Regions from separate parts of the Homo sapiens genome. Here region 1 is linked to region 2. Evidence: promoter capture Hi-C in 16 types of primary human blood cells and fetal thymus (Javierre and others, 2016). All regions are on one chromosome and are shown on one strand. Each heading gives the region's core, a stretch centred on a gene start or on the middle of the fragment in contact. The rest is flanking DNA. Distances are from core to core; before and after follow the strand shown. Region 1 overlaps ST6GAL1 (ST6 beta-galactoside alpha-2,6-sialyltransferase 1). Region 2 holds the start of RFC4 (replication factor C subunit 4).

What was found. Contacts are between HindIII fragments. The CHiCAGO score rates a contact against its expected background, and 5 or more counts as called.
Region 1: a contact is called between a fragment that was not itself captured here and the fragment with the promoter of RFC4 in region 2, in 4 of 17 cell types (activated CD4 T cells, total CD4 T cells, naive CD8 T cells and 1 more). The highest score is 6.0, in activated CD4 T cells.

What each region holds. Positions count from the first base shown.
Region 1 is chr3:187,062,558-187,069,497 of GRCh38, forward strand. The region is part of intron 5 of ST6GAL1 (ST6 beta-galactoside alpha-2,6-sialyltransferase 1); the gene reads left to right. Among named protein-coding and RNA genes, the nearest start is that of RPL39L, 73 kb to the right of the region's middle. RefSeq lists an enhancer at 3,077-3,256 and a silencer at 4,204-4,253. The HindIII fragment of the contact is 2,591 bases long and covers 3,454-6,044 here.
Region 2 is chr3:186,804,859-186,811,492 of GRCh38, forward strand. It overlaps RFC4 (replication factor C subunit 4), which reads right to left and starts at 1,624. Exons shown (of 11, transcript NM_002916.5): 1 at 1,432-1,624. It overlaps LINC02043 (long intergenic non-protein coding RNA 2043), which reads right to left. Exons shown (of 4, transcript NR_125409.1): 4 at 6,022-6,634. RefSeq lists enhancers at 1,180-1,791, 1,792-2,403. The HindIII fragment of the contact is 2,364 bases long and covers 1-2,257 here.

The sequences.
Region 1 (6,940 bases), core at 3,499-5,998, 260 kb after region 2:
AAGTGAAATAAGCCAGTCACACACACACACACACACACACACACACACAAAATACTATATGAATGTGGTTGCCAGGGAATGTGAGGTGGGAGGGGGAATGGGGAGTTACTGTTTAATGAGTATAGAGTTTCAATTTTGCAAGACTGAAAAAGTTTTGGAGATGGTTTGTGGTGATAGTTGCACAACAATACAAATGTACTTAATATCACTGAACTGTACACTTAAAAATGGTTAAGATAGTCAATGTTATGTTATATGTATTTTAATACAATTTTTAAATTGGAAAAAATGTCAGTAGGGGAGACAGTCACAGAAGTACAAACACTGTATGATTCCACTTTATATGGAACACCTGGAGTAGAAACAAAGTAGAATGATGTTTGCCAAGGGCTAGGAGGAGAAAGGAATGTGGAATTGTTGTTTAATGAATACTGTGATTCATTTTGGGAAGCTGAAAAAGTTCTGGAGATGGTGGTGATAGTTACACAACAATAGGAATGTACTAAGCTGAATACTTAAAGTTGCTAAAATGGTCAATTTTATGTTATGTATATTTTAAAAGCTTTCTTTTAAATCAACAGGGAGAAACCAGTTGATAGAGGGAGAAAGTGAATATACTAAAAAGAGGAGAAAATGATTAGTTACCCACAACATGATGGTGGTGGAGCCAAAGCGTAGTGGAGGATGAACCCCAGCAGGCGGGAGTCAGAGGGAAGAAGGTGCGAGTGGTGTAGCTGGAGGCAGTCAGTATTAGAAGGATGAGAGGGCTTCTATTTTCTCTGCAAAGTGGCATGCAAGGCCAAGTCAGAAGGAGGCTGAGGGGGAAAGAGGTTTTAGTAGAGAAGGTTTGAACAAAGAGATTTATAATTGTCATTGAGGTGAGTGGGACCGTCAGTAAACCTGATGAATGGAGTAGGATTTCCAGGCCATGCTGGGCTACTTTGAGGTTGAAGAGAATGAATTTAGAGAGAAACCAATCTCTGTTTGATACATGGATGGTAGGATCTGGAGGTGAGCAGGCAGCAGCAAAGAGGAGAGGGGAGAGGGGAGGAGCCCTCCCTGAGCACTCTCTTGGACTGCGGAGGCTACCTACTCTCTGAGCACTTCTTCGTGATGATTCAGTCTTCCTCACTGTGAAGAACGAAACCCCAGTCCTGCAAAGATTTGAAACTGTATTTAAGGCCAAAGTAAGGTTGCCTGGGAATTAAGAGTACTGGAGTCAGGCAGGCTTTGATCAGATCCCTCCCCCAACACTTCCTGTGTGAGTGACTTCAGCAAGTTGCTTTACTTTACCTTTCTGAGCCTCATTTCCCTTACTTGTAACACAGAAATATGAATAGTTACTATCCAGGGTTTTTTTTTAGGATCAAAGGAGTTACTATGTGTGGAGCATGTCACCCAGAGGCTGGTATGCAGCAAGTGCTTTGTAAATAGTAGCGATGGGCACTACTGAAACCTGAATGTCTGCCTCTGCCTGTTTGCGAATGACTCCACCTTCCCAAATCCCAACAGGGAAGGTGAGTCAGCTTGAGACCACTTGAGAGGCATCTAGCAGAAGGGAGGCAAAACTTCTGTTAAAGGATAATTTTTAGGGAAAAAAAGGTAAGATGATGACTCTCATACAGATATTAAAAATGAATTCATCATGAAGATTTTATTTTACTCGTATGATGGAACCAGGCAGATATTACAACTGGTTCAAAGGAAAAGTCAAAGCAACACAAATTTGGAGTAAAGGAGTTGAACTAGTTTTTCTGTGAGATAAGGCAGGGGGAGGGGAGAAATCAATTGAAACTCTCCTGGGCAGCATCCTGCCCAGTAGGCACATGTATTAGTTGCCTACAATTCACAAAGGGTTGCGAAATAGCTCCCGTGGAATCAGAATCTGACAGGGAGGAAGAGTGTGCTCAGAAAATGCATGGCTTTCTACTGAAGCAGATTTTTTTCCCATTACACTTCTAGATCTCTGTGCACCATTGTGCCAGGGCTGCGAGGAAGGTGGCCCACTTCCCGGGATACACTACCCACCCTCAAGAGAGCCTTTCCTGCTGCTTCTTAGGCAAGTCAGCTCTCTTTTCTCACCTCCTGTAAGCAACACTAAGTATCTGGCTGTTCCTTTCGTACTCGAGTCCTGGCCGCTCCATGACAGCACTTGTGGTGGTACTGAACTGTGATGGACACTTTCTATCATTGCCCTTTCTTACCTTGATATCCTAAAAAGCTGGTGGTCTGTCTTCTCTATCTTTTGTCCTGGTCAGTTATCCTAACTATTTTGTGTCTGTTTCTGTGGATTAGTAAACGGGGTCCCCACCCCCACTCCACAAGGAGAACATCTGGCACCCAGAAGTCACTGAGAGAATAGCTGTTGCTTTGGTAGAATTCTGCCTCTGAGTGGCTTGTTCTTTTCCCAGACGGAGAGGTCTCCTGACAGCAGCTCTCTTCTTTTTCTTTTTTTTTTTTTTTGAGACAGAGTTTTGCTCTTGCGCTCAGGCTGGAGTGCAGTGGTGCACTCTCGGCTCCCTGCTCTGCCTCCTGGGTTCAAGTGATTCCCCTGCCTCGGTCTCCCAAGTAGCTGAGATTACAGGCATGCACCACCATGCCCAGCTAATTTTTTGTATTTTTAGTAGAGACAGGGTTTTGCCATGTTTGCCAGACTAGTCTCAAACTCCTGACCTCAGGTGATCCACCTGCCTCAGCCTCCCAAAGTGCTGGGATTACAGGCATGAGCCACTGCGCCTGGCTTTAGCAGCTCTCTTCTAAAGCCATCTGGACCCACATTTGTTCAGCTCCCCTCCCTTGGCCATGATGAAGGCATGCAAAACAAAAAAGGCACTTTTCTTATTGAGAAGGTGGCTTTTTATAGAGAATGGTGTCATACTGTTAGGTTTCAGGCCAGCAGACCTAGTCAGGCATGTGACACTTCTGTGCCAGGTGTGGCTATGAGAGTCAACAGGAAAAATGATATATGTAAATGGACAGGTCTTTAAATAAATGCAGTTTTGACTATAAGAGTAAGAAGGTTTCTGTGAGACTCAACTCAGTACCTCCTGTACCCTGTGGGCCTGAGAGAGGAGACAATGGGACAAGAAGACCCAGTGGCTTCCTTGGAAGCTTTTGTGCTAGCTGGAGAGAGAAGACCTACTTCCTATATGCCTAGCAACAGTCCACACTGACTGGACTGCAACCAGGACATTTCCAGATTACTCAGTGGGGCTTATCTTGAAATAATAGTTGATGCCATTTGTTAAATATATTATATATACCATCTAAGGGTCTTACATGCCTTCTCTCATTTGATCTTCATGGCAAACCCTGTGAGGTATGACCACCAACCACCATTTTACCTCAGAACTCAGGCTCCCAGAGTTTAAGTTGCTCACAGGAGCCCAGAAAGTAAGCGACAGAGGTGGGATTTGGTTCTAGGTGTTTGCCACCAGCACTTTAAATCACCAAAGCTTTCTGGAAGCTCCAACTTTTCTTCTCAAGATACTGAAAGACAGGTATCTGGATGGGTTGGCAGGGCGGGTGGGAGGTGGGCGAGATTTCCATCAACAACGGGTCTAAAACCAGCGATGGTGAGCTGGGTGATTTTGATGGAACCCCTGCCATACAGTCTATTAATATCATAATTGGAGCTAAAATTTAATCATGATGGCAATCATGAGTTCTGGGGCTTCTTGATTTGGGCCAGCAGACACAGTCTCAGTCACTAGTTCTCCGAATCAGAGAAAGGATGCCTTCAGGCTGTGTCTTCACATGGCTTTTCCTCTGTGCGTGGTGGAAAGAGAGAGCTCTGCGGGTCTCTTCTTGTTGTAAGGACACTGGCCCCATTGGATTAGGGCCCCACCACATGACACATTTAATCCTAATTACCTCCCTCACAGCCCTATTTCCAAACAGGGTATTAGTCACATTAGGGATTAGGGCTTCAACATAGGAATTCTGGGGGCACACAATTCAGTCTATAACAGAGGGAAAACAGATTTGAGAAGAAAAAAGTCCAAAATATGCACAGTGGTAATATCTGAAGATGTGCGTGCGTGCGTGTGTGTGTGTGTGTGTGTGTGTGTGTGTTTCTATTCTTGCATTTTCTAACTGTCCCCAGTGAGTATTTGTTACTTTCTAACTGAGAAGGTTACTTTAAACAGTGTCTTGAGCAGCAGCACTCCATGCCCTGGTGTAGCCTTTTCCTGGCAGATGTTCCCCAGGGCTCTGCTGCTCTGCCAATGACTTATTCTCAGCATGAACTCCTCCCCTGCCCCCTAAGAGGATCTCCAAACCCAGGTCACACTCCCCCTGCAGGTAAGTACAGGCGTTTGAGAACAGCTTTATTCTTCCAGGAACAGCTGGTCCCCTCAGCAGGGCCTTACAAGGTGGTTATGTCTAAATAAGGCACCTGAGGCCAGGAGATGTGACATGGTCCATCTAATACCATGGAGTGAGTTAGACACAGAGCAGGACTGGAACCCATGCTTCCAATTCCCCATCCAGTTTTAAGGCAATCTTCTTTTCTTTCTTTCTTTCTTTTTTTTTTTTTTTTTTTTTTTTTTGGAGACAGAGTCTCTGTCACCCAGGCTGGAGTGCAGTGGTGCGATCTTGGCTCACTGCAACCTCTGCCTCCGGGGTTCAAGCGATTCTCCTGCCTCAGCCTTCTGAGTAGCTGAGATTTCAGGTGCCCGCCACCACGCCTGGCTAATTTTTGTATTTTTAGTAGAGACGAGGTTTTACTATGTTGGCCAGGGTGATCTCGAACTCCTGACCTCAAGTGATCTGCCCACCTCAGCTTCCCAAAGTGCTGGGATTACAGGTGTGAGCCACTGCACCTGGCAAGGCAACCTTTTTTTTTTTTTTTTTTTTTGGTAGAAAATCTTTGAACTTCATATAGATGGTGTTAATGTGGGTGAGTTCAGAGCCATGTGTAAAGTTCCAGGAGGGGAGTGCTTGCTGGCTTCTCCCTTATCCCTCAACCAGATCCCAGCCCCAGCCACTTTCTGTTTCTCTTCTCTGGATAAAACTATCATTCATCTTCACCTGTTTCTATTTTCATGGATTACTGTCTCATTCATCTCAAGTAGCTCAAGTGAATGGCTGTTTTTCCATTGGATACAGGAAGACTGAGGGTGACCTGACCCTCATGGTGTGCTTGCTTATTTGAATGTCTGATGGTTTTATGGGTGTAGTCCTGCTGGAGCAGAAAGAATATCTGTTAGGAGCCTGCCTCTGGGCTCTGGTTCTAACTGTGCCACAAACTCATCGTAGCCTTAGACAATTCTCTTGTCTCTCTGGGCCTCAGTTTACCCATCTGGAAAATGATGGGTCTGAATTTAATACCTTGAGTATCATCCAGCTGTGACATACTACAACTCAGGCAAGAAGCAAATTCTCCTGACACTCCATACTCCTATCCAGTGTTCTCTGACGTCCTTCCCCAAGAGCTGTGGTACCCTACCCTGCCCACATTATGTGAGGCATTATAGCACATAGGTTAGAAGTGTGGTCTCTGGGCCGGGTGTGGTGGCTCATGCCTGTAATCCCAACACTTTGGGAGGCCGAGGCAGGTGGATCACGAGGTCAGGAGATCAAGACCATCCTGGCTAACACAGTGAAACCCCATCTCTACTAAAAATACAAAAAATTAGCTGGGTGTGGTGGCACATGTCTGTCGTACCAGCTACTTGGGAGGCTGAGGCAGGAGAATCACTTGAACCTGGGTGGCGGAGGTTGCAGTGAGCCAAGATCGTGCCACTGCACTCCAGCCTGGGCAACAGAGCGAGACTCCATCTCAAAAAAAAAAAAAAAAAAGAAGTGTGGTCTCTGGAGCTAGACCTAAGAATCCAATTCAGACTCTCTTACTTACTGACTGTGTAATTTGGACAAGTTACTTAGCATTTAGCATCTCTATTTCTTTAATCATAAAATGAACATATTAACACTTACTTCCTAGGGCTGTTGTGAAGATAAACTGAGTTGAGGTATGACAGTACCTAGCATGTAGTAAGCATCATTAAATGGTGTCTGTTGTTTTCACATATTGTAAAGAAGAAAGCTTCGTGCATCTCTTGGAATTTCTGAGGACGGTGAAGCCACAGCTGGGAAAGTCTCAGGGAGCCAGGAGTTGCTGGCCTCCTGCTTTGCATACTCAAAATTGCTGGAAAGGGGCTATAGCAGGGGGAGACATTTTTTAAAAATCCCAGTTATTGCTATTCCTCATGAGTATGTATATATCACCTGGCATCAGTACTCTGCATAGAAAGAAGCATAGCTAAAGAAAAGACACTTTGCTTTTAATATAACAGCTGTTTTCAGGGGAATAGGGTGGATGAGGATAGGGAGTACTGGCCCTCTGTCCTCAGGCCTCCCTGTCACCAGCTCAGTCACGTCTATCTTACAAATCCCCATCTAGCAGGAAGCCTGCTCTGCCCTTGGACTATAGACCTGAAGGGCTGTTGTTAAGTTACAACGTTCCCAGTGGAAGGAGGACAGTACTTAAAAGTTACAAGATGTGGGTTCTGTTCTTAGTTCTTATGGCCTGTCAGCCAGGGAACTCCTGGCCAGTAGTCTCATCCTTGAACTTCTTCTTTTTTTTTTTTTTTCTCAAGACGGAGTCTCGCTCTGTCGCCAGGCTAGAGTGCAGTGGCACGATCTTGGCTCACTGCAACCTCTGCCTCCTGAGTTCAAGCTATTCGCCTGCCTCAGCCTTCCAAGTAGCTGGGATTACAGGTGCTTGCCACCACGCCTGGCTAATTTTTGTATTTTTGGTAGAGACAGGGTTTCGCCATGTTGGCCAGGCTGGTCTTGAACTCCTGACCTCAAGTGAGCCCAGCCCTCATCCTTGAACTTCAAATTTCCACCCCACCTTACTCCCACAGGCATATACCAGTTGTTCCTTTTTCTCTGTTCTTATGCAGGAAATGGCCTGAGGTCCAGGAGTCCCCTTGGT
Region 2 (6,634 bases), core at 374-2,873:
AAAGATGTTACATAATAAAGGACATCACCCCATGACCTAGGACACTCTGAATGCACTGTACTGAGGGCTACAAGAACAGAAAAGTGGTCAAAGTCCCTAACGAACTTAGAATCTATTTCTAGTGCAGGAGTTATAGAACAAAGATCATATGTCACAAAAATGTTTAATGAGTTCCAAATGCATTGATAAATATGATGTTGCTAATGACCAAACCACATGGGCCTCCATGGTTTCTTTCACAGTCATGGGCCTAGCTCTAGCTCAGACCCTGAAATGGACTCTTCGGCAATTAAAGGTGCTCTGCTTGCACCACAAATGAGAACCTTCACTCCTTTCCTTGGGTCAGAACTCAAAGACCTTTTTTTGTTGTTGTTGTTTTTGAGACAGGGTCTCACTCTTTTGCCTAGGATGGAGTGCAGTGGCGGAATCATGGTTCACTGCAGCCTTGACATCCCAGGCTCCTGTCATCTTCCCACTTCAGCCTCCCCAGTAGCTAGGACTACAGGTGCGTGCCACCACCCCCGGCTAATTTTTTAAATTTTTGGTAGAGACAGGGTTTCACCATGTTGCCTAGGCTGGTCTGGAACTCCTGGGCTCAAGTAATCCTCCTGCCCCGGCCTCCCAAAGTGCTGGGATTACAGGTGTGAGCCATCTCGCCTGGCCAGGGACCTATTTTCATGGCAGAGTCAATGCTTACCTACCTTCAGAGACTTTCTGTGGGGAAGGGAAGGTGGGGGACTCTGTTGTTAAAATAGAAACAGCTGTTTTTCTCATAACACACTCACTTGAAGAAATCAAAACAATGCATAAAAGCATGAGAGATTTAAAAAAGTAATACAAAATCCCACCCAGAAGGTAACTATTTCTAACATGCAGGTAAACATTCTTCCAGGCTGTTTTCAGGGATAAAAAGCATCATTAGCTCGCCTGAAAAGTCCCCGGTTAATTCTATTTTTTTCACTGCTACATGCCCTGGTGCCTAGAACAGTGCCTGGTACATGGTAGATGCTCCGTAATATTTGGTGAATGAATTACCATCTATGATACCCGGTTTCCTTTTCTGTTAAAGGAGCTAAGGCCTATTCCACAGGACAACTGAGTTAAATAAAAGAATGTATGCAAATACATAGTTCCTTGCTTGGCATATGGGGATATGCTCAATAAAATAAATTTTTAATATCTGTTAGCAGCCAAGGTTTTTATAACGTTACTGGATTAGTCCATCCCTGCCTCGGGCTGTTAAACATTAATACAGCCCAAAGCCGGGGCCTGCAAGATGCTGTCCGGAACCACCATTTCACCAAAGGGCGCGGCCAGGGCATGAAAGGGCCACTAGGCTGGGGCCCCGAAGGAGGTGGAAGACCTCACAAGGGGCATCAAGGGCAGGAGTGGGGAAGGCGAAGCGGGCTTGCAGTTCCTCCAGCAGGTTACCAGTTAGCCTGGCTTCTCGTGCAGGTCACCGCCGCCGGCTCGTTCCTCAGGTTTCCGCGATACAAAAAGGACGAGATGGTCTCGAAGTCTTAGCTCCGTCACCTAATCTGAGAATAACGGGCCCAGGAGACTTACGATCACTGATGTCCCCACAGTCGCCTCAGTTCCCGCCACGGAACGGCGGGCGAAAAGCAGGGCGGGAATACGCCGGTAGGAATACGCGGGCACGTAACGCGTCACTTCCGGTGCTGGGGCGCGCTGCTTGCGGAGGGAGTTTGCCCGTATACGGTTTTATTTAGGCAGGTGATGAGCCAGCCGGACTTTCAGGCAGAACTGGACTGGAACAGGCATGGCCTAGGAGGTGTCCCTGTCCCGGTGCATTGCTCCCACTTCAGACGTGAGCGCGACCCTCCCGGAAGGAGTAGAGGTCGCGCGGGCACGGCGCTGGGGCTGCTTACCTGGCAGGCTCAGCAATGAGGGCGGGGCGGCGGCGCGCGGGCCTCTGGAACCCTGCCGGTCCACCGAAGGTCCCGAGCCCGCTATCTTCGTAGGTGCGGGCCTCCGGAGGTGCAGGTCCCTGTCCTCCTTGTCCTGCTTCGTCGCAGAGCAGAACGCGTGTGCTTTAAGGGCAGAGACATCTGAAGATGCTTTGCCTTGCCCTCTTGAGGACACGTGGCTTTTACTTCTAATAGTGTCTGCGTGTTGTGGAGAGAGAAGACCATGCAGCTGTGGACATCTATTATAATTCCTGAGCCCCACTTAGAAATCTGGAAGTGAAGGCGTTCAATAAAAGTTAAAGGACTGATAATCATGTTTAGCCCCACCAAGCTTCATGCACAGTGGGCTAGGCTGGTGCCTGAGCCCACTGCTTTTATCTCTTCCAAGTACTTGGTTTAGCTCTGAAATGCTCCTTAATCCTATTGAAACCTGACCCTTCTCAAAGGCCACCTTCTCTACTGGTCTTTACTAATTACTAACCCATAAGGTTGTTCCGGGTCTTCTTCAAATGACTGTTTTGTTTGGCACAAACTCAGCATGATATCCATTGTTAACTTTGTACGTTTTTTTCATTTATCTTGCAACAAATGCTTACAGAATGTCCACGCACTGTGTTAGATGCCTGCAGATACAGCAGGGAAAACGCTCGAGATGCCCTCAAGTAGCTTTACAGACTAGGAGAGTGACAGACAATGTGATGTGTGGTTATGCAGAGGAAGTAGGGGGCTGTGAGAACTTACATCCCAGGCCTAACCCAATCAAGGGTTTAACCAAAGTAAGGATGCTTTATGCTACTTTGTAATTTCCACAGAGTCTGATACAATCTCTGGACAGTATAAAAAACACACAGGTTATCTATCTGGTCACCGGTTTACATTACCATAACTTATCAAACTGTATACTTAATGCTTGTATATTTTATTGTATGTAAATTATACCACAATACAGTTGATAAAACAAGATCTATGAAAATAGATGGTATCCATTTGCTACCTGAAGGAACAGCACAACCACAGAGAGGGGGATGTTATGATCTCATTTAACAGACAAGTTGGGCTGGGCACGGTGGCTCATGCCTGTAATCACAGCACTTTGGGAGGCCGAGGTGGGCGGATCACCTGAGGTCGGGAGTTCAAGACCAGCCTGGCCAACATGGTTAAACTCCATCTCTACAAAAATACAAAAATTAGCCAGGTATGATGGCAGGTGCCTGTAATCCCACCTACTTGGGAGGCTGAGGCAGGAGAATCGCTTGAACACGGTAGGTGGAGGTTGCAGTGAGCTGAGATCACGCCATTGCATTCCAGCCTGGTGACAGAGCGAGACTCCGTCTCAAAAACAAACAAACAAAAAAACAGACAAGCTGATGGATAAGTGGTCTTTGTCCATTTTGGCTGCTATGTTTATAAGCCATAGATTGGGTGGCTTATAAACATCATAAATTTATTTCTCACAGTTTTAGTGGCTGGGAAGTCCAAGATCAAGGCACCATAAGATTCAGTGGCTGGTGAGGGTTCACTCCCTCATTGACAGCTGTCTTACTGCTGTAACCTCACTTGGTGGAAAGGGCTAACTAGTTTTCTCCAGCCATCTCCTTTATGAAGGCATTTCTCCCATTCATGAGGGTTCCACTCTATTGAACCAGTCACCTCCCAAAGGCCCCACCTCCTGATACCATCACCTTGGGAGTTATAATTTCAATAACTATAATTTGGGGGTGTGGGGACAAACATTCAGACTACAACAAAGGTTAATAGCAAGTAAGTGGCAAAGCCATAATCCACATCTTGGACTGACTCCAGACTCAAAGCTTGTGATCAGTCACTGGGCAGGTTCAGGGCTGGCATAGAGGTGCCTTAATGTTAAATAGAAAAGAGAGACCTGAGTGGTATCTTGTTTTGGCAATTGATTTTAAAAAAATGCCACCTTTCTGCAGGTACATTCAGCCCTTGGTGGGATGAAAAACTTGGTGATAAGAGATTGGGCTGGATTTCTATCTCCACTTGCCCCTCAGCTGACTACTCCGTTATTGTACACAATTATAGGCAGCATCCTAATCCAGGTAGTTGAAGAACTTGTGTGCACACCAAGCATTGTCTCTCTCACCAGAACAAGAAATGTCCTTATATAAATACTTATCTTTTTTTGTGTCATACATATGTGGGTGTTCACATGATTAAACCAGTTTAACAAGTTTATAATAGCTTTTATTATTTATTGTAATGGGCATTCATTCAGTTACTACTATGATACTATTATGTGGAGATTTGTAAAGTTTTTTTGTTTTGTTTTATTTCTGTTTTTTCTTTTTTGAGACGGAGTCTCACTCTGTCACCCAGGCTGGAGTGCAATGGCTCAATCTTGGCTCACTGCAACCTCCGCTTCCCAGGTTCAAGTGATTCTCCTGCCTCAGCCTCCCAAGTAGCTGGGACTACAGGTGTGCACCACTGCACCCAGCTAATTTTTGTATTTTTTTTTTTAGAGATGGGGTTTCACCATGTTTGCCAGGCTGGTCTCGAACTCCTGACCTCGTGATTGCCCACCTCGGCATCCACCCACCTTGGCCTCCCAAAGTGCTGGGATTACAGGTGTGAGCCACCGTGCCTGGACCCTGTGAAGTTTTTTAATCTTAAAAGAGGGCTTTCAAAAGTTGAGTACAGCTTTATTTAGTGCGTTGCCCTTTGAAACAGATGATACAAAACTGTACCTGCATGATGTGTGTGTGTGTGTGTGTGTGTGTGTGTGTGTGTGTATATATATATATAGAGAGAGAGAGAGAGAGAGAAAGAGAGAGAGAGAGAGCACGAGATCTCCCTATGTTTAGTCTTGAACTCCTTGGCTCAAGGGATCCTCCCACCTCAGCCTCCCAAAGTGCTGGGAATACAGGTGTTAGCCACTGCCTCTGGCCCTGGATTATGTTTTTTTTTAAATTTTTTGAGACACAGTCTCACCCTGTTGCTTAGGCTGGAGTGCGGTGGCACTAACTCAGGTCACTGCAACCTCCACCTTTTGGATTCAAGTGATTCTCGTGCCTCAGCCACTTGATTACAGACACATGCTGCCAAACGTGGCTAACTTTTGTATTTTTAGTGGAGACAGGGTTTTACCACGTTGTTCAGGCTGGTCTCAAACTCCTGACCTCAAGTGATTCTCCCGCCTCAGCCTCCTAAAGTGCTGGGATTACAGGCGTGAGCCACTGTGCCTGGCCTGGATGATATTTTATAAGGTCACTAGGAAAGGAAAAGACTTGGGTAGCAAATGAAAAAAGAGAGCTGTCAGGAGTGGAAAAGATCAGATAGTGGATGATAGTGTCATTTTGAAATCAGAAAATGCAGGCTGAGTGCAGTAGTTCATGCCTATAACCCTAGCACTTTGATAGGCCAAGGTGAGAAGATCACTTGAGCCCAGGAGTTTGAGACCAGTCTGGGCAACACAGCTGAGACCCCATCTCTAGAAAAATAACAAATAAATAGAAAAAAAAATCAGAAAATGCAGGTGTAGTGGATGCTCTGGTATGCTACCTTTCAGGACTGAGATACTCACTCCCCCAGCTGCTGGGAGGGTTGCTGGCCAACTCTTGAATGAGTCCCTGTCCAGCAACTGTCTTCAGCCAACAAAACCACTTTATCAAAAATTGCATTCCTTTTGTGGAGGCAGCCCACCTCCAAGGGCTAGTCTAGGAGGATGCTACAGTTTGGATGTGGTTTGTTCCCGCCCAAACTCATGTTGAAGTTTAATTGCCAGTGTGGAGGTGGGGCCTAGTGTGAGGTGTTTGGCTCACTGGGGTGGATCCCTCATGAATAGACTGGTGTCATTCTCAAGATAGTGAGTGAGTTCTTGTTCCTGGGAGATTGTATTCGTTCTTATGGAAATGGATTAGCTCCTGAGAGAGCAAGTTGTTATGAAGTGGGTCAGCCTCCTTGGTCCCCTCACTCAGCACGTGCCTGCTCACCTTTCTGCTTCTCCTCCATGTCATAAGGCAGCATGAGGCCCTCACCAGAAGCTGAACAGCCTGGCGCCATGCTCTTGGACTTTGCAGCTACCAGAATTGTGAGCTAAAGAAATCTCTTTTCTTTTTTTTCTTTTTTTTTTCATTTTTTATTGATCATTCTTGGGTGTTTCTCGCAGAGGGGGATTTGGCAGGGTCATAGGACAATAGTGGAGGGAAGGTCAGCAGATAAACAAGTGAACAAAGGTCTCTGGTTTTCCTAGGCAGAGGACCCTGCGGCCTTCCGCAGTGTTTGTGTCCCTGGGTACTTGAGATTAGGGAGTGGTGATGACTCTTAACGAGCATGCTGCCTTCAAGCATCTGTCTAACAAAGCACATCTTGCACCGCCCTTAATCCATTCAACCCTGAGTGGATACAGCACATGTTTCAGAGAGCACAGGGTTGGGGGTAAGGTCACAGATCAACAGGATCCCAAGGCAGAAGAATTTTTCTTAGTACAGAACAAAATGAAAAGTCTCCCATGTCTACTTCTTTCTAGACAGACACGGCAACCATCTGATTTCTCAATCTTTTCCCCACCTTTTCCCCCTTTCTATTCCACAAAACCGCCACTGTCATCATGGCCCGTTCTCAATGAGCCGCTGGGCACACCTCCCAGACGGGGTGGTGGCCGGGCAGAGGGGCTCCTCACTTCCCAGTAGGGGTGGCCGGGCAGAGGCGCCCCTCACCTCCCGGACGGGGCGGCAGGCCGGGCG